Linked DNA regions of Homo sapiens: regions 1, 3, 4, 5, 6 and 7 are each linked to region 2. Evidence: promoter capture Hi-C in 16 types of primary human blood cells and fetal thymus (Javierre and others, 2016). All regions are on one chromosome and are shown on one strand. Each heading gives the region's core, a stretch centred on a gene start or on the middle of the fragment in contact. The rest is flanking DNA. Distances are from core to core; before and after follow the strand shown.

What was found. The method cuts DNA at HindIII sites, captures the fragments that hold promoters and counts their contacts. A CHiCAGO score of 5 or more calls a contact.
Region 1: a fragment that was not itself captured here is called in contact with the fragment with the promoter of PEX2 in region 2 in 2 of 17 cell types (M2 macrophages and M0 macrophages); the score reaches 6.4 in M2 macrophages.
Region 3: a fragment that was not itself captured here is called in contact with the fragment with the promoter of PEX2 in region 2 in 5 of 17 cell types (M2 macrophages, M1 macrophages, M0 macrophages and 2 more); the score reaches 13.0 in M2 macrophages.
Region 4: a fragment that was not itself captured here is called in contact with the fragment with the promoter of PEX2 in region 2 in 1 of 17 cell types (M2 macrophages); the score reaches 6.3 in M2 macrophages.
Region 5: a fragment that was not itself captured here is called in contact with the fragment with the promoter of PEX2 in region 2 in 1 of 17 cell types (M2 macrophages); the score reaches 6.0 in M2 macrophages.
Region 6: a contact is called between a fragment that was not itself captured here and the fragment with the promoter of PEX2 in region 2, in 2 of 17 cell types (M2 macrophages and M1 macrophages). The highest score is 6.1, in M2 macrophages.
Region 7: a contact is called between a fragment that was not itself captured here and the fragment with the promoter of PEX2 in region 2, in 1 of 17 cell types (M0 macrophages). The highest score is 5.6, in M0 macrophages.

Annotation. Positions count from the first base shown.
Region 1 is chr8:76,350,718-76,353,417 of GRCh38, forward strand. No RefSeq gene overlaps it. Among named protein-coding and RNA genes, the nearest start is that of LINC01109, 52 kb to the right of the region's middle. The HindIII fragment of the contact is 1,334 bases long and covers 686-2,019 here.
Region 2 is chr8:76,998,705-77,001,404 of GRCh38, forward strand. PEX2 (peroxisomal biogenesis factor 2) reads right to left here and starts at 1,374. Exons shown (of 4, transcript NM_000318.3): 1 at 1,286-1,374. RefSeq lists an enhancer at 1,369-1,663. The HindIII fragment of the contact is 1,935 bases long and covers 1,345-2,700 here.
Region 3 is chr8:76,368,022-76,370,721 of GRCh38, forward strand. No RefSeq gene overlaps it. Among named protein-coding and RNA genes, the nearest start is that of LINC01109, 35 kb to the right of the region's middle. The HindIII fragment of the contact is 2,587 bases long and covers 152-2,700 here.
Region 4 is chr8:76,407,017-76,409,716 of GRCh38, forward strand. The region is part of intron 1 of LINC01111 (long intergenic non-protein coding RNA 1111); the gene reads left to right. Among named protein-coding and RNA genes, the nearest start is that of LINC01111, 1.7 kb to the left of the region's middle. The HindIII fragment of the contact is 4,473 bases long and covers 1-2,700 here.
Region 5 is chr8:76,453,667-76,456,366 of GRCh38, forward strand. All of the region lies in intron 2 of LINC01111 (long intergenic non-protein coding RNA 1111), which reads left to right. Among named protein-coding and RNA genes, the nearest start is that of LINC01111, 48 kb to the left of the region's middle. The HindIII fragment of the contact is 1,119 bases long and covers 733-1,851 here.
Region 6 is chr8:76,424,259-76,426,958 of GRCh38, forward strand. All of the region lies in intron 1 of LINC01111 (long intergenic non-protein coding RNA 1111), which reads left to right. Among named protein-coding and RNA genes, the nearest start is that of LINC01111, 19 kb to the left of the region's middle. The HindIII fragment of the contact is 5,584 bases long and covers 1-2,700 here.
Region 7 is chr8:76,384,653-76,387,352 of GRCh38, forward strand. No RefSeq gene overlaps it. Among named protein-coding and RNA genes, the nearest start is that of LINC01109, 18 kb to the right of the region's middle. The HindIII fragment of the contact is 3,641 bases long and covers 1-2,700 here.

The sequences.
Region 1 (2,700 bases), core at 103-2,602, 650 kb before region 2:
ACTTCAAGTCACATGGTACATTTTCGTAAATGTAAACCTTCTCATGTTTTATGGTATTATATAAGAAATGTACTTTAGTGGGGTGGGGGGAGGGGGGAGGGATAGCATTAGGAGATATACCTAATACTAAATGATGAGTTAATGGTTGCAGTACACCAACATGGCACATGTATACATATGTAACAAACTTGCACGTTGTGCACATGTACCCTAAAACTTAAAGTATAATAATAATAAAATTAAAAAAATAAAATAAAATAAGAAAAGCAACATATATACTAGATAGGCATAAATTTGTACCTGTTTTAAAATGGCTTTTTAGATTCTTTGACACTAAAAAATAAAACACTAATGACAAGCAAAAAAAAAAAAAAAAAAAATGAGAACCAGAGGGCTGATTAAAAGTTTCACATACTGGGGGGAGATTAACTTATGAAAGCCATTGTATGGGTGATAAGGTAGAAATACAGCTGTTTTGTTGAGAGGATTTCAAAAAAAAATGTACTTTAAATTTGTCTCTTTCTGGGGTCATAATTCTTAGTAAATAATTTAGTGTTATGTAATCTAGAGGCTTCCTTATATAAATCATTGCAAAATGTTCATTTGCATTAGGCAATCCAGAAAATATTTAAGACAAGAGAAAACAGATTTTCTAAAATTTTTTTATCAAGCAATATTTTTAGAAAGCTTATATTCACTTGTATGCCATTAAAATTATTTATAGATGCATAATTAAAATAGAAAGATATTTGAGATTGACAATGAAATTGTATTCTAAATCTCAAATCCTATCTATATATTGAGTACAAAGATAGCTATAATAGAATCACACATATTCTATATATATAACCTATGACTTCAATTGAGATATATTGGACATCTTATTTCTGGATACAGAATTTAGGAGCAAAATACACCATAGTATCAGTGAACAAATACAGCAGGAATAGAAAAGGTGCCTGTAAAATTACAGCTATCACCCTTTCCATTTATATCCCTTTCTGGACGGATCTTTAGTCAGTGGTTCATAATTTCACTGGGATTAATTTGCCAGCATTCTGAAGACATTTATCTTATTTTCTGGAATTCAGAAAGGGATCAGCCTCCACACAATCTATTTCACTTATCTTTCAGAACAGCAGCACATGATGAAAGGAGATTCATGTTGAATGAATATATTTGTCATTGTCCGTGGTGCCTAGATTATATGAATATGACCCAGACTTTTTTTTTCTGAAAACAATGGGACATACTTGTGCATAAATAAATCCTATGCAATATAAGAACTATCATTCTTATTAGTTCTCATTTTTAGTCATGATTGATATCCTTACCTTGATCATAAGTTATTTGCCTTATATGAAGAATATTTTCTTAATTCTGAAAGAAAAAATGGAGTTCTCTATAAGCATTTATATAATAAGCCATTAAGTGATCTATTTTAATACACTTATTTTTGAAAAGATTTCAATTGTAACTTGCCTTGCTAATAAAGCATCTGAATGTCAAAACACATTAATGTTATTTTTTTTTCAGCTGTATACACACACATAATTTAAATAGCAGAGAACTTGAGGTAACATAAATATTTCTAAATATTTCTGTCCTTCCTTTTACATAAATGAACTTGGTTTCTTTGGGTTTTCCTCATTTTGTAGATGAGATGGAAGAGAGAAAGTAAGAGACAAGCAGACCCAATAGAACATAAATCAAAGTGCTAAACTTGCAAAATCTTGATAGATGCAACTTCTCTAGTAGTGACAATATAGAGGACACATTTCACTTTTAAACTTTTTTCCATTAGTTTTTTGACAGGAGTACACTAGTTCAGCTTTAATGAGATTCTAGTGTAAAAACTTCAGGGCTAAATAAAAGAAACAAATCAAAAGGACCGAATGATTGCCATTTAATGTGAAAGAATGAAAGTGCAAACAATCATTGTATGACATCTAGCTGGGCTAGTCACTGCAGAATGACAGGTAGAACAATTCAAAGTTACTGATCTAAAGATGGAATAAAAGCTTATATGTTTGAAGTGCTCAGAAGATGAAGAAATAAAACAGACTCTGAGATAAGACATGGTTAAACCTTTTAAATTCCATGCCCTATTGTCAGTATCATTTGAATGGTTTGGTACACTATTTTTTCTGAAATCATGTCATTTAAGGAATTAATTTTAGAGCCTATTTTATGCTTTCAGACTTTAGGGTTCAGAGACTTTTTTAAGCTAAATAATAATATCACATATAATATGCTTGCATAATCAAAAATGTATTTTACTGATTTGCCACTTTATGCATTGTAAGAACTCATTGTTAAGGGGCTATATTTGTAGGTAAATTTACACATTCAAGTTCTGCTTTGATTTGAAAGAAGATCAATGACTTTAATACTTAAACATAGTTTTAATTTCATGTTTTCCTTTTACTTATTTATTTAAAAAATAAAGAAAATCACCAATTTTTTCAATAAGCCTTTTTATCAGTGAAATAACCTATTCTAGTTACTGCTGGAAACAATAATCTGTAATTGCTGCTTTCAGTACTAATTTGGCCCATCCCTACTTTTTCATCTCAATCTAATCTAAACCTATTTGAGCAAATAAAATGATATTTACCTCATCCTCTGTTACAAGCTTTCAAGATTACAGGCTTCAGGAAAAATCAATACAAAATACCAGCTTAGCAGCAGGTTTGTGCT
Region 2 (2,700 bases), core at 124-2,623:
TAAACCTGAGGGTGGGCTTGCTTTGTCTCTCCCTGCACGGCTCCAGAAAATTTCTACACAAGTTCTCCTATGGAACAGTTTTAAAACCCCAGCTTGAGTACTAACACTAGTTTCTAAAAATAAGGAGAATACGGCCAAGAGGTAAAATTGTACAAAGGCAACTAGAGTCAGGACTAGAATCCAACTGTCTTGATTTAGTCTAATACTCTTCAGTCTACTAGTCTAGTATTCGCTCTATGTCCTGTTACTTCTATTTTTTTTTTTAAGAAAAAAATATGAAGGGTTTTTTTTTTTGACTCTGTAAATAATTCTTTCAAATCTCTTTCTGGCTCAAGATCACTCAACTGTAATCTTTCTGGAAACAAGTAATTGATAATATAGGTGAGATCAGATAAGTTAAAAGAGCCACCCCAAGTTCATTCTGTTCAGGATTAAGTAAAGGTAACACTTTAGGGGAAGGTGTTTAGACTACAAGCTGCGGTGTTGTGAGCGCCCAAGTATCATTTAATTGTCCGAAACGTCAAGATAAAATATTTCCGAGGGGCATCACGGAAGTTTAACAGAATGTGTTAGACTTGAACGTTCAACAGCTTGCTCATTTTGCCAAAAGCCCTTTCACTAAATGTGGGAAATTTGGAAAATGGTACCTCAATAAATAAACAAACAACGATTTTTAATTTAAGAACCCAGGAAAAAATGTTAACAATTCTCACATTCAGATTTCTTATCAAAAGTCAACGTGAAATATAACTAATTTATCGCAAGCAATTTTATCAGAAACTTTTCATTATCTCTTCCTCCATAAGAAAACCAAACTGCATTTACGTGCGCTTTCAACAGTGTTAGAAAACTAAGCACTCAAATTTTTTGTACTACATATAACACTTTACATGAACTTTCAGATATTAAGTAAAGTTTGGATCCTCAATTCTTTATAAAGCCGTTTATAAGAGGTAAATATCTTCACGACCGCCAAATGAGAGAAAAAGATTTCGAAGTTCGTCTCTTAAGTTACTACGTGGAATGCAGAGGGGCTCAACTGCAGCTGTGTGTGTGTTTATTTTTAATGCCGCGATCCTAAAAACATCTTTAGGAGTTTAGGTTTGCTTCACTGCCTTTCCCAAAATTCAGCAGCTTTGATTTGCCTTTTCCAGGGAGACAGGAAGCCAATAAACAGGGAAAAAAAAGCAAACGGCGACAATTACAAGGTCGTGAAACTCCACGACCTCCCAGCTGAAAACAAGACCTCGGGTTTGCACTCCGGCTCTCTAGGGCAGACACTGACCTTAGGAGTCTGCGAAACGCCCACGCTCCACGTAACTTTCTCTGAAACATTCTCTGGAAAGCTTGTCTTTTCCTAGCCGAATCTGGATTACCAAGGCTTCCGGAACTCGCAGGCTTCCGGAGCGACGCAGGAGCCGGAAGTGGCTGAAAAAAAAAAGAAAAAGTTACACCAACGAGAACTGCGCTTTAGCGGCGCTGCTGAAGGCACTGGATGGCCAAACAACCGCGAACGCCGACAAGCCGAAGAGCCGAAGGGCCGAAAAGCCGAAGCGGACACCCGCGCGCGGTGATTGGCCGGTTGGCCGGAAGAACTCTGTCTCTGATTGGCAGGAGAGTCACGAACCGGTCAGCCCCGGGTCAGGGGCCGCAAGTGAGGACACTACAAGTGTCGAGGGGCCTAGGGGAAGCCGGGGCTTGGGAGGGCAGGGCTTTCTCTGCTTGCGGACATCGCGAAGGGCCTCTGGCAGGCGCCGCCGGGTGGCGGCGAGACGCCTCCGCGCCTCCGGGGTTCCTTGTTCGCTGTCGGAGGAGGACCGGCTGAGGGATGGCCTGGTGGGGAGGGAGCCCTCGGGCAGGTGGCTGCGTCGGGCCTGGGGCAGTTGTGCTGCGCTTGGAGACCTGCCCGCCCTCGGGGCCTGTGTGCACAGGGAGGATAGGCTGTTTATCTCTGCAGGCTCAGGAAGGCAGGTAGCTGGCCCGTCAGTCATCCGCCCTGCAAAGCGCTCCCGAGAGACCCCGTAGAGCGGGCCAGCGCGCGCCTGGCCTGAGGTTTCCCGCCCCCGGAGGCCCTCACATCTCCCCGGTAACGCTTAGGAATTCGGGCAGCCAGCTCGCCTACCCCTGGGGAATCGAGGCAGAGCTTCTGGGAATGGGGTCTGAGGGAAGAGTGCTCACCAGGCAGTGACATGTAGCCGTTGAGGATCGCCACTGCCTTCTCGTTCTGTGGTATGAATGGCAGTGTCTCTCTAGAGAGTTAGTGCTTAAGTTTGAATGATGGCAGGCACTTCAGGATTCCAGCACGTAGTAGGGTTTAAGAACGTCTTAGTTCTTACCTCCAGTCTCGACTCACCGTTCCTACAAGGAACACTCACTTCTACGAAAGCTCTATTAGACATTCGAGGGAGAGCTTATACTGTAGAACCAGTGTTATTAGGAAAGTTTTTTTTTTTTTGCTTGTATTTTTATTTCAGAAACTACCCATGGAGCAGAGTTGCTAAAATAAAATTTATTAACTCTAATGCTATCCAAATTGTGAAACAATGGTACAAATGAGATAGAGTAGAAGCTACAAATTGATAGAGTATGTAGTTCACTTAGGGGTTTGGGAGTGGATTTTCTAGAGCTGCAACTGTCCAGTGTAGTAGTCACTGGCCACCTGAAAAGTGGCTAGTCTGAACTGAGGTCTGCTCTAAGTGT
Region 3 (2,700 bases), core at 195-2,694, 630 kb before region 2:
ATAAATCAGCCACCTGTTTTTCCTGGCGTGGCGACTTCAGAAATGGCAATTGCCACCCTAAACAAATTATGGTCTTTTATGGCAAAATATATCCATGAAAATAGTTAAGGATTTCATGTCCTCTTGCATCCTATCTTCAAAGTACTTTATAAGCTTTCCTATGGTATTTATTAACTACATTCTCATCATGGAACCCAGCTTTAATTGAGAGTAAATTCTTGCTACATTCTTAAATACTAATTAGTTCTCACTCTATTAATTGTCACAAACAGACCATGGCTTCTACCAAACTTATTCCACAATAGTTAGTTCTTATTAATTATAGTAACAAAAGTATTATATATGGTAAATTTCTGGGAACAATCAGAAGTATATGCATGCCCAAATCTAAGAGAAACAGTTATTTTTTAGCTTGTTCCCTACAATACTTTGCAAAATTCTCACCGTGAAATATTTTTGAATGTAAATAACCTATTTTTTATTTATTTGATTTCTGTGAGTATCATTCTACCTCCGATCTTCATGATTCTTGACTCTGTAGAAAAAAAAAGATCTTGTCTTTAAGATAACTGTATTTTTACTTAATCAAAACAATAGCAATTTATAATTTATAAGGTATAGCATAGTGTTAAAAGAATTTTATCTCCTTGGCTCTTCTTAAATATCGTTTACAAATTCAAATATGCAAGTCCAAATATGGCCATTTATGTTGCCTCCCAAAACCCATGACATCTCTTCCCTCTCAGGGTTAATGGGTCAAAGATGATTCTGACGTGAATACATTGTGCTTTGTATAGTCTTTGATATTATACTTGTGACTCACTTTTTAAATATGAAAAGAATAATTTATTTAAGGCAATATGTTCAGAGCAAACAGAAAATCTAGTAAAGCTGAGATACAGTGTTTTGTGTTGTTGGAAAAACAGTCTACTGAGTAATAAGAACGTATACCCTATTACTCAAAATCAAAACATAGGCAATAACACATTGCTGGCATAGCCAATGACACAAAATTCTATTTGCTACACAGCGTCTCTCATCAGCGGGCTAGCAGTGGGCTACCATTTTCACTAGGAAGCTGTTTAGACAGCTTTCGGATACTAAAGAGAACTAAATATGAGTCAAAATAATACTTTTAGAAGTCAATGCATAGCGACCAAAAAAGGTATTCCAAGTAAATATTTCAGTAGAAAAAATAGATTGACAAGTAGGTAACTTAGTAAATTATTGAAGTAAAATTTCTGCTTTAATATGTAGGATTTACCTCAACAATATTTTATATAAGATTATGATTGTGTTATAATTGAAAAGAAATGAGAAGTTTGGCTTTGTTTTTGATTCCTGGGATGGTAGGTCAGGATTTTTCTTTGCAATTAGGACAGTTGTATCTCTATAAATTGTAAATTTATTGCATCAAAAAAAAACTGTCTACCCCTAAAGTTGTGATTATAAATATGCCTTCCTTTCTACCTTATTTCAGCCATAATCATTCCTTGAATTTTCATCCAAGTGAAGTATCTAATTAATTATTTTTTTTTTACTTTTTAATAAAGAAGTTCCTGGAAGTGACTCACTGTAGTACTACATAGTTAAAGCACATCTTAATTAAAGGATGGAAAAAGAATCACTAAGACCTTACTGGGAAATTTTATAAGGATGACAGACATGAAAGAGCTAAAGGTAACAGATGTTTTAACCAAAGTAATATAAAGCCCAGATGTTTGGCACATTCACATAGTATTAACTGCTTAAGTAAGAGTCATACTTTCCTTTTTTGAATAATCGTTATGTTTCCCCTATTTAAAAATTCTTTTAAAATAAGGAGTGTTGGTAAAAGCAAGGCAGAAATGGAGAGAAAAAACAATCAACAACACTACAATGAAAAAATTCATTCTCTCCCATGATGTCCTACAACTGTGTCGTGAATTCAAGAGAGCAAATAGATGTTTATATTTAAGTAATAAATATTTTTAAAAAGCATCACTTAAAATGATATATCATGAATGGAAATAAATATTTTACTTGTTTGGTAGTTATTTTAGACATATGTTGGGACAAGGCTAGCTCAGTTAATTGTCCTCTAGAATTTATTCATTTTTATGTTCCTAGACAGGAGAAAACAAGTTTTGGAATCACTTAAAAATATTTCATGTTTCCCAGTAATAGAACAACAAAAGCCATACTTTCATGAGAGAATATATGAATGTACATAAATAAGTAATTCTATAAGGCAAAAGCTCTGGCTGTCTTATAACATGTTCAACTGATGTAAAAGAAATTGGGTTTTATTAAGAACTTTAAAATATTTAAAATATTTTCCCTTCAATTCTCTAGGAAATTTGTATTTATATGATTTTCACAATATCCGTTGTAGAATAAGAGAAAGTACAGCAGTATTTTAGATTTCTCAACCTATTCTTTGTCCAGAAAGTCATTTTTTAACAAAATAGTTTTCAGAAATTTGTTGAATATATGATCCTTGATTTTTAACTAAATGTACTTCCTGTTTTGAAATAAAGCAAAAAGAGAAAGGAAGATATAACCATCAACTATGCAATAAAAAATATGCACTGAAAATACACTTATTTAAATAGACTCAATATAAGGTTCTGAAATAGAATTATATGTTCTTTATGGAAAGAAAATGAAGTTTTTCCCTTAATAGACTATATATCCCAAGATGATTTTAAAGTATTTTCA
Region 4 (2,700 bases), core at 70-2,569, 590 kb before region 2:
TTTTCTTAGTAACTGAGTTTTAAATCTGAGAAGAAAAATGTAAATTATAACTTTTTGGGAAACTATATGCTTGTATTCCACAATCTAACTTTTAAGGAAAATAAACTATTTGATAGTTTGGTGCTAAGTATCTCTACTAATGAAAAACAAGAGTATTACCACTAACTGGCAATACTGTACTTGTATATTTACTCTTTTATGTGAAAAGATGGAAGAATGATAACTAACATAAAGTTGCCTTGATCTAGTAATAACAGTAATCTGATTACTATCAGAGTTAGAAACAATATTTAAATGGAACTCTTTTTCTGGGGTCCTAATGATAACATCTGATGACAGAGTATAACCATCAACTTCATAACACAATGCAAGCAAAGATTGGAGACTGATATATTAGTTTGAAACAATGTTATTTATCCATGTTAAACAAAGACATGACTGCATCATTTTTAACACATATTTGCTATTTCACATGAGTCTGAAATTCAATTTATTAGGCTTCAAAATGATATTTTTTCTAATAGATGGTGTTGACCATTTTATTTAAAAAAGTAAGAATACATTTGGTTATATTCAAAGAATATATTTTGGTTGTAATTCAAATAAGATTTAGAAAGGAAAAGATTTATATTTATACGTTTCTTCAGAACTGCCCATCAATTTGAAACTGTCTTCTTTAATAAATGCTAATGATTTGGTTGATTACGTTTGTGCATGTACTTACCATGCAGTTTTGGGAATCAACACACTGATGAATCTCTATCAAGAAGAGAAATTATATCATTAGCTCATTTGCTTTCTAAGCAGCAGGAGTGAAAATTCTATCCAAAATAATATTAATGATACTGTTTTAACATCCACACAGAAAAGCATGTACGATTTCTTATCAGTGTTTTGTAGATATGGTTCATATTTATTGGCTATTATCTCTTCCTTCTGTGTAGGAATACAACTGGGTACATATTTTAAACCAGAAAATCAAAACCAAAACCAAAAACAAACTAAAATGCCAACTTAAAACTGAAGTGTCTCATCCAAGTTTGAGAAGGGAGCAAGCCTATTTGTGCCCCTTGCATAGGAAAATAGTAAGATGACATGAGTTCAGGGCAATTTCTCTGTGTTATCTTTCTGTTTATATTAGAGGATTTTTTACTAACTGGTCAAAATGCACATTATTGTTACATTTTTCCCACCATAACTTATGTAGCCACTGTTATACTAACTAGTAAGGTTGTTAGCCAGAGGAACAAGGCCCAGAAAACAGGGCCGAGCATTCCAGGGCCAGTAAGTCCTTGTCCTGTATAGATTAGAGCAGTGGAGCCCCATGTGTGTTAAACTGAGAACTTGAGCCTTGCTGAATTTAACATTAACATGTTTTGTTGGTCTTTTTAGTAGGGTAGCTGAGGGCTTTGCTGTGTTTATAAAGCACTCAGAATTGTAAGACTTAGGCCACAACATTTAGAACACACACACATTCATGACTTGACTTTTAAAGTCAGTTTAATATTTTCACTTTTATTAAGAAGGAAATCATCAACAGCACTGTTTTGATTACATTTTCTTCATTTTCTTCTACCCAAATAACGAACGGGAAATTTCTAGACCTATAAGAATACACATGTACATATCTTTGAATAGATAAAATTATAAATATAAACATATTTATTTAAGTAGTTATATATAAACTATATAAATATATATAAACAGTATAGATATACAAAATAGTATAATAATTTATTCTCAACTATAGGAAGATATGTAGATAGATACAGATAGATATATATCTATATACATATAGATATTTATATGACGTCAGTCTCAAGCAGAAGAAAGGAAAGCCAGTAGTAGGTGCTCTAGTTGAAGACACAAAATGACATGTGACTGAAGCATTAATTCTAGAGGACATATATAGATATTTACATCTATAGGTGGATAGATAGATATAGGTATAATTGCTTTCCTCTCAGATTTTAAATTGTATATACATCATTGCTACTTAGAGAACTATTAACAGTTCATAACTACAAATTCTTTCAATTAAGAATAGAAAATGTGTGTGTACTTATATGGTATATGTATTTGCGTACATATGCATGACCAAAAGTGTTTGATAGTAAAAATGCATGATTGACATATATAGACATCAAGAAATGACGAAATCAAAGTAGAAGATAGAAAACATCCCCAAAGCATAGGATCAAATAAAAATTATTCTTACTTTTGGTATCACCTGACAGTCTCTATACTTAAATAAAAACATAGGTTTAATTTTTATATTTAAATACTTAGTCTGATCCTTTTCATAGTTTGTAGAAGAGACCATTCCAGGAATAAATAGAAAGACTTACTAATATTTCAGTAATTTTGAGATCACTTGGAAGATTTTACTTTAATCATGAAAAAAACACATATTCTATGACAATTACAATGACATAAGAGAATTAAATTAATGTGTATTTAAATCTCTGCCTTAAGAGTTCCTTTTAAATACTAGTTACTTAAAAGTAAATTGGAGCAAGATTTTATACAAGTAATATATACTTTGTGTTACCCATTGTTACTGTAAATAATTTTAAATAATCATTCAAAATCTTTTTTAAATACTCTCATTTCTAAATATACTGAAAATTGTTAAGTATAATGATACTCATCTAGGTAGCTGTAAGAAAACAATAAAAATTCTTATTTTTATTTCAACTA
Region 5 (2,700 bases), core at 42-2,541, 550 kb before region 2:
CCTGATTTTAGAAAATAGAAATTTATGCCACATGTTTTTTACCTTCAAAAATTGTTGTGGGTACATAATAGCTGTACATATGTATGGGGTACATGTGATATTTTGATATAAGCATATAATGCGTAGTGATCAAATCAGGGTAACTGCGACATCTATTACCTCAAATATTTATCATTTCTTTGTATTGGGAACATCCCAAATCCACTCCTCTAGTTATTTTGAAATATACAAGCTGCATGTTTTTTAGTATTAATGCATAGACTACTCCCTGCAAGAGCTGAAGTTTTACCTTTTATTGTCTGCAAGTTAATTCATAAACCCAAATGTAAGCACCAGCAATCAAAAACATGTAGTTGGCAACATATCTTGGAACATATTGATTCTAAAATATCTAGAGAAACACAAAGAATTCATCCATATGTTGCTATTTTTTTCTCAATTCTGACAGATGGCATACTTGAGAATAAATAAAAACAAATGCCTAAAATCAGAAGAGTTCTTATATCTTAATTGCAGCTAACAATATAAATGTAAAATATTAATTTATTTAGATTTAAATTGAGATGCAAGGAAAATACAACGGATTGTCACTGATTATGAAAAGTGGGGGAAACAAGCAAAGTGAAGATTGCAGCACTTTAAGATTCACATTTACCTTCCCCTTCAATGGAAAATATGTCAATAGTTTTGTGTTGGACTCAGACTAGCCACTCTGGTAAGTCATGTTTGAAAAGCTTCATTGAGATGCCACTTCCACTTCTCTGAAAACAACTTTGTAAAATACTTTTGCCTTCTATGCTATTTATTACCAGAGATTTTTTATTTCTCTTACCAAATTTTTATTTAATATTATTTTATTGTCCCAATGATCACATACTAAGATAAAATATACATAAATATAATGACTAGCAAAGCAATTGATATTTGTGTATTATGTGAGCCCTACTTGAGAGGTAGGACATTTTTCAAATGACTTGAAAATGTTTTAAAATGATTATTTCTAATAACTATGTTGAAAGTGTTGGTACCCGTTACACATAAACAGACGAAGATGAACTCCGAAAGTAGCAACTGGAAAACCAAATACAGCCTATATGCTTGTGAAAGCAGGCAGAAAGGCTATCAAACAGGGCAGAAATAAGGAGTAACTACTGCCAAGATCTCTCACCCTTTCAACCTGTTCTTTCTTTCCAGAACCACAATCAGCCCTTCCCTTCTTGCCACATTAGAAACTGAAAGAGAAAATGTTGGCAGACTACAGTGAACAGAGGTGGCATCTGTGCTCAGTGAGGAGGGAGGGAAGTGGTATCTGTGGTCAACACTGCCTCTATCTGAGGCATCACTGAATTCTGAGTCCATAGGGTTGGCTGCAGCAATTTACTGCTTTGAACAGGAGTGCAGGGGTTTGGGGCTTGCAGGAAATAACCATAAGAATGAACATACATATTCTATATGATATCACAGGCATTATTATATTATCTATACCTTATATTGTATATACTATCACAGACATATATTACACATATAGAGAATATATATTTTTATGAGTGAATAATATATATTACACATAATAGAAATAAATATATTAATGCTAAGTGACCAAAGATCCAAATTTTGGAAATTAAAACGTATGGTTTATTCCATAGACTAGATGGATTGGGGATGTCAAAATAAGTGCTTAAGTAAAAGTGCTTAATATCAAATAAAACTGACTTTCTGTAAGTCATCCATATTTACCAAGGAACAGATTATTTGTCTAAATTCCTGGAGTAATACCATGGAATTAATATATAAGTACCTTCTCAGAAATTTTACGACTTATTTTTTCCAACATCACTACATAACAAAATAAGCTTTATTTTATAAGTAGAAAATTCTAGCTTGAGACATTTTATATCTTTCAAAAGCAGCCATGGACAAACACGTGGTAAATCTTTGGGAGGGGAGAAGATGGAGAAGGATGTAAATCAAAGCACTTTGACAATCACTGTCTTCAGACTTTCTAAATTATAGTGGTAACTCAATTGTTGAGAGGAGTGGGCAATAAAGAAATTACCTGGGAACTCTTCTCAAATTATAGGCATGCTGCCATTGTCCACATCCTCCCACATCATTCCCCCAGGAAAATATTGTTAATAAAAAGTATGTCACACATCACCCAGGTGTTTGCTGGGGGCTGGGGGTGTAGGGAACAGGGTAGTAGCTATTGAGAAACCCCAGCAAATCACACTGCAATTCCAAAGACTGTGATTTGCAGGTAAAGGCCATCTTGAAACTTAAACTCTAGGGCAGGGCTTCCTAACCTTGCACTACTGACATTTTAGATGGAATAATTTGTTGTTGTAGGGAGCTGTCCTGTGTGTTGTAAGCTATTTAGCAACATCCCAGCCTTCCACCCTCTAGACGCCAGTAGCCCCCTGCCCTCCGCACACAGTCAAGACAATAAAAAATGTCTCCAGACATTGCCAATGTTCTGCTTGGGGGTGTGGGGTGAGGAAGGGATTGCCCTCTGTTGGGAATCACTGAGCTGAAAGTATGTGTGGTATAAACAGGGAGAGAAGTGTTGATTTAAATCAAGCAGGAGACATCTTAATAAGATATATATTCATCACAATTGTGAACAAGATAATAATTGGGGTGTCATATTCAGGAATAAAAGGTTTAAAAAAAACAGCAGCAGTGTATTTTGTCAGTATTGGA
Region 6 (2,700 bases), core at 43-2,542, 570 kb before region 2:
TAATCTAAGTAACAATTTGTGTGTGTGTGTGTGTGTGTGTGTGTGTGTGTGTGCATGTGAGAAATCCTCAGAAGCAGCAATTATAAAAGCAAAAGTTTTAAAATGCAATTATGGGCACATGCATTTCTAGAGTAATTATGTCTTCTATTTATATGAAAATCTAAACTTACATGAGCCAGGTTAACAATATGTTTAGTAAATTTTCAAAAATTTTATAGAGAAAAATACGTGGGAAAATTCTTGTACTTTCTATTTTGTAAGTTTAGCATGGTATATTTAAACTTTTGCTTCACTATTTTGTCACCTAAAAAATAAGTCAATTATGCATTAATTTTATCTAGTACAAATTAGTTTATAAATATGTGTGGGAGCATATACATACACATATGTATAAATAGCCACATCACACTTGCTATGAATTACCCTTTCCCTGTTTCATAAAAATTATTGTCTCATACTGTGTAAAATCCAGCTGGAAAGTCAGTCTGAGATTTCAGTGACCAGGTAATCTCAACAGAGTATCACCCGGAGACAGTGAGTAACTTTGTGCCAAAAATAGCACTTGATCTCCTGCATCTGCGTCCATCACCTTTGTCCCTGGCTATTATTAACCCATTTATGCCAGAGGTTGCCATTTTTTGAACTTTTACATGAGTGAAAAAATCAGACCTTGGTAATAACCTTGAGCAGCAGGATATAAAAAACTCTCACATTCTTAGCACTCCAATAATGGAACACTAGGCATAAGTGGGTCAGTTCTTCCTAAACTTTACCTTATCACTTATTTTCTTTCCACTGAATGTGAACCTAAGTTGGTAAATGACTAAGTTGCCATGTTTAGTGGTAGATACAGACTTTGGGTTGTTAACTAGATGTATGGGGAGCTGGTTTTTTTTTTTTTTTTTTTTTTTTTTATTATACTCTAAGTTTTAGGGTACATGTGCACATTGTGCAGGTTAGTTACATATGTATACATGTGCCATGCTGGTGCGCTGCACCCACTAATGTGTCATCTAGCATTAGGTATATCTCCCAATGCTATCCCTTCCCCCTCCCCCGACCCCACCACAGTCCCCAGAGTGTGATATTCCCCTTCCTGTGTCCATGTGATCTCATTGTTCAATTCCCACCTATGAGTGAGAATATGCGGTGTTTGGTTTTTTGTTCTTGCGATAGTTTACTGAGAATGATGGTTTCCAATTTCATCCATGTCCCTACAAAGGATATGAACTCATCATTTTTTATGGCTGCATAGTATTCCATGGTGTATATGTGCCACATTTTCTTAATCCAGTCTATCATTGTTGGACATTTGGGTTGGTTCCAAGTCTTTGCTATTGTGAATAGTGCCGCAATAAACATACGTGTGCATGTGTCTTTATAGCAGCATGATTTATACTCATTTGGGTATATACCCAGTAATGGGATGGCTGGGTCAAATGGTATTTCTAGTTCTAGATCCCTGAGGAATCGCCACACTGACTTCCACAATGGTTGAACTAGTTTACAGTCCCACCAACAGTGTAAAAGTGTTCCTATTTCTCCGCATCCTCTCCAGCACCTGTTGTTTCCTGACTTTTTAATGATTGCCATTCTAAATGGTGTGAGATGATATCTCATAGTGGTTTTGATTTGCATTTCTCTGATGGCCAGTGATGATGAGCATTTCTTCATGTGTTTTTTGGCTGCATAAATGTCTTCTTTTGAGAAGTGTCTGTTCATGTCCTTCGCCCACTTTTTGATGGGGTTGTTTGTTTTTTTCTTGTAAATTTGTTTGAGTTCATTGTAGATTCTGGATATTAGCCCTTTGTCAGATGAGTAGGTTGCAAAAATTTTCTCCCATGTTGTAGGTTGCCTGTTCACTCTGATGGTAGTTTCTTTTGCTGTGCAGAAGCTCTTTAGTTTAATTAGATCCCATTTGTCAATTTTGTCTTTTTAATCAAGGAAGGGGACTGGTATTTCATAAATATGACTGGTATTAATTTAAGCTAAAGGCTGGTAAATAATACTAGTAGGTGCTATGTAAATATTTGCTATATGCCATGTACTGTCATAAGTGTCCTGCCTGTATCAACTAATTTAATACCTCAACTATGAGGTAGATAATATTACCGCCATCTGAAGATGAGGAAATAGAAGAACAGAGAGAGTAAGTAAGTAAGTTGAGCAAGGACGTGCAGCAAATAAATAGTGGATCTTGAAATTAAACACAAGCAGATCAACTCTAGAATCCATGCTCTTAACTACACTACACTGTCTCTCAAAATGAAACATCCGTGGAGGTTTTCAGCATAAAAGCTGTCAGAGAAAGTTCTTGGTGGATTTACAGCTCAAAAATATTATCGCAAATTAAATTTTTGACACCCCTCACCATCCAATCTCCAATACCTAGGCACCACCTCAGTCTTCTTGACATTCGGGATGCCTCTGGACCCAAATAGGGACCAATTCAGAAACAGGCCGTACCCTCCTTTACCCAAGAAACACCTGTAGCCCTAAGTGAATCCACATGTTTCCTGTGATTATGGAATTCAATTCCAGGTTTTCTCTCCTATTTATTTTTCTATAATCCAATTCAATTTTAAAAGGTAAAATGGGACTGGAATAGAGGCCAGTACTCAAATGCACAACTAGCTTGTTATCACTGTATTTAAAGACTTAAAACTTTGCAAATTATCATTAGCTTTTCCTTTTAAAGTT
Region 7 (2,700 bases), core at 21-2,520, 610 kb before region 2:
GTAGCTGTATGTATATATACACACGTATGTGTGTATGTATATGTTTGTGTGTATATTTGTGTGTATATGTATGTGTCTGTGTGTGTATATATACACACACTTATATTTCCTATACAAATAGCACACAAGAGCTCCCTTGACATATAGCACTGATGAGGCATTAAAATAGGAAATAGGACTGTGTGCCTTATACTCCAAGATGATAAATCCCCAAATTGGAGAAGACAATATGTTATTAAAAATGCCACTGTCATTATTACTATTTGTTCTGGTGAGAACACTTCACACAGTATCTACATATACTCAGCAAATCTTAAGTATACAACACTGTATTGGTTGTCTAATTATTATTCACAAACTCATCGAGTTATATACATTAAATATGTACCACTTTTTGCATGTCAATTATACTTCAATAAAGTGGTTTAAGAAAAAAATATCTCACTTAAATCCTCATTTTACATCTCTGCTAAAGATGAAAGTTTAAGGACAAATAGAGTTATCTCTCTTGAAAAACCAGTCCATGATATGTGCTGTGAATTTTAGCTTTTCCCTTCTTACACAAAAATATCCATCCTTGTAAAATTATATTTAGAAAATAAAGCCAACCAAAAAGAAGAAAATTTGAATGCCACTGACTCTACTCAGAGTTGTCACAGTGTACTGTCCCTGTCACTTATTGCAAAGATATATAATATTTAGTACACCAAATATGTATTTTGTAATTAGATCTTAATATAGGTTAAATATAGGTTAACATCTTTCCTTGTCAGTATTGTTCTCCATCGTGGTGTTGTACCTTAATTTATTGGATTAACTGTATAATAGTTAAATGCTTACTTCTATGTTTTTCTCTATTATAAACAACACTGTGATGAATATTTCCCCTAATTAAATCACACATCCTTGCTGAATTCCATAAATTAGATTTCTGCAATTGAAATTACAGGACAGGACAGGTGCAGTGGTTCATGCCTGTAATCCCAGGAATTTGTGAGGCTAAGGTGGGTGGATCGCTTGAGCCCAGAAGTTTGAGACCAGCCTGGGTGACATGGTGAGACCCTGTCTCCAAAAAACAATTAGAAAGAAATTGTGGGACGAATAGTTAAGCCCATTTTAGAGACTTTAACATACTTAAAAATTGTCCTCCAAAAAGATTGTGTTAGAGTACATCATCAGCACGGCGTATGAGTGTCTATGTCTGAACCTTCTCTGGGTTAGTGCACACTTGCAGGTGGTGTTGGTCTGTTGAAACAGCTAGAAGCCATATCTTAAAACAAATCTGATGAATCAAGAATGTGTTGAACCCAGTTAGACTCGGTTTCCTCTTGCAGAATCTGCCTGTGTTTTTCAAACACCAAAACATTTAGTCAGCTTAAAAAATTCAGTAAACAAATCAAATTTATTATTGATTTACTTTATAGAAATAAATTCAACTGATGTGATAATAAAGATATATTTAATAACAAAGATAATTAATGTTAATAATAAATATTTGATAATAAAGAATATTTGCAAAACTACAAGTTTAAAACTTGGATAAACTTATAAACCGTGGCAAATAATTTGCCATTTTATTTAAAAATATCACTATTTTCTCATAAAGAAAGGCTACCCTTCTACTCTAATCTTAATCCTGATAGGCAAATTGCCACCCTGGTTGAAAACTGTATAGTAGCTGTGATTCACTGTCCATAGCCACCTGTGATCAAAAACAAAGCATTCGATGGTGTTAATAATCCCCACATTGAAAGTTGCTTGACTTCCATAGCATCAGTTGAAATAACTATGTCTGCAGAAATTAACTTTAAAAATGATAGAAGTTTATTGAAAAAATGTCCATCTGCCTTCTTTATGAGATCAGAGATTAACCACTTACTAATTTAATCAGCCTTTAATTTACTCTTTAAAAATATCTGGAAAAATATTTTAGTATGTCATATAGAAAGAATGACAGTATCTGCAATATCTGAATCTGTGTGATGATTCTTTCAGGATTGGTTTAATATGATTCAGGGTGGTCAATTAAATAAGCTCTTCTGTTGTTCTGGCTGAATAGTGATTTGATTTTCCAAGCCTACTAATCCATTATTTTAATTAGCATTAAATTCGTAAAAAAACTAAATAGGTTTTAAAGGATCTTAAAAACCCTGAAATAAATACCACAAATGCAATTATCAGAAGGAAAGACAATAATAACTCTCATTTGGGTAATAAAGTAGAACTGCTTTCATGGAAAATAATTAGAGCAATAAACACACACTTTAGACATATTTAGAAGTGTTTGAATGCCACATGGATTACTGCCACCTTTGGGAAGAAACTTGGAATGTAGTTGACAAGAAAGACTTGATTTTCTGATTTATTTATTCAGTCCATGCCACAGAGTTCATGCAGAAGCAGTAATGTAGCATAATTTAGAAAATTCAAAAGACTCTCAAAGCCAAACACACACACACACACACACACACACACACACACACACACACACACACAAATAACTAAATGCCACCTGTATTTTGGGAGATTGGGAGAGAGATTCAAGGGAAATTTTCAAAATCCAAAGAAGTTTATTAAGTCATTCTGATGTTAGAGGAAAATATGGCACCAGAGCAAGTGGTGAAAGTTTATTTATTTATTTAACTCTATGGAACTGCAGCTGTTACTGTAGATATTTAAGTATGTGTTATCCAGGGTTTT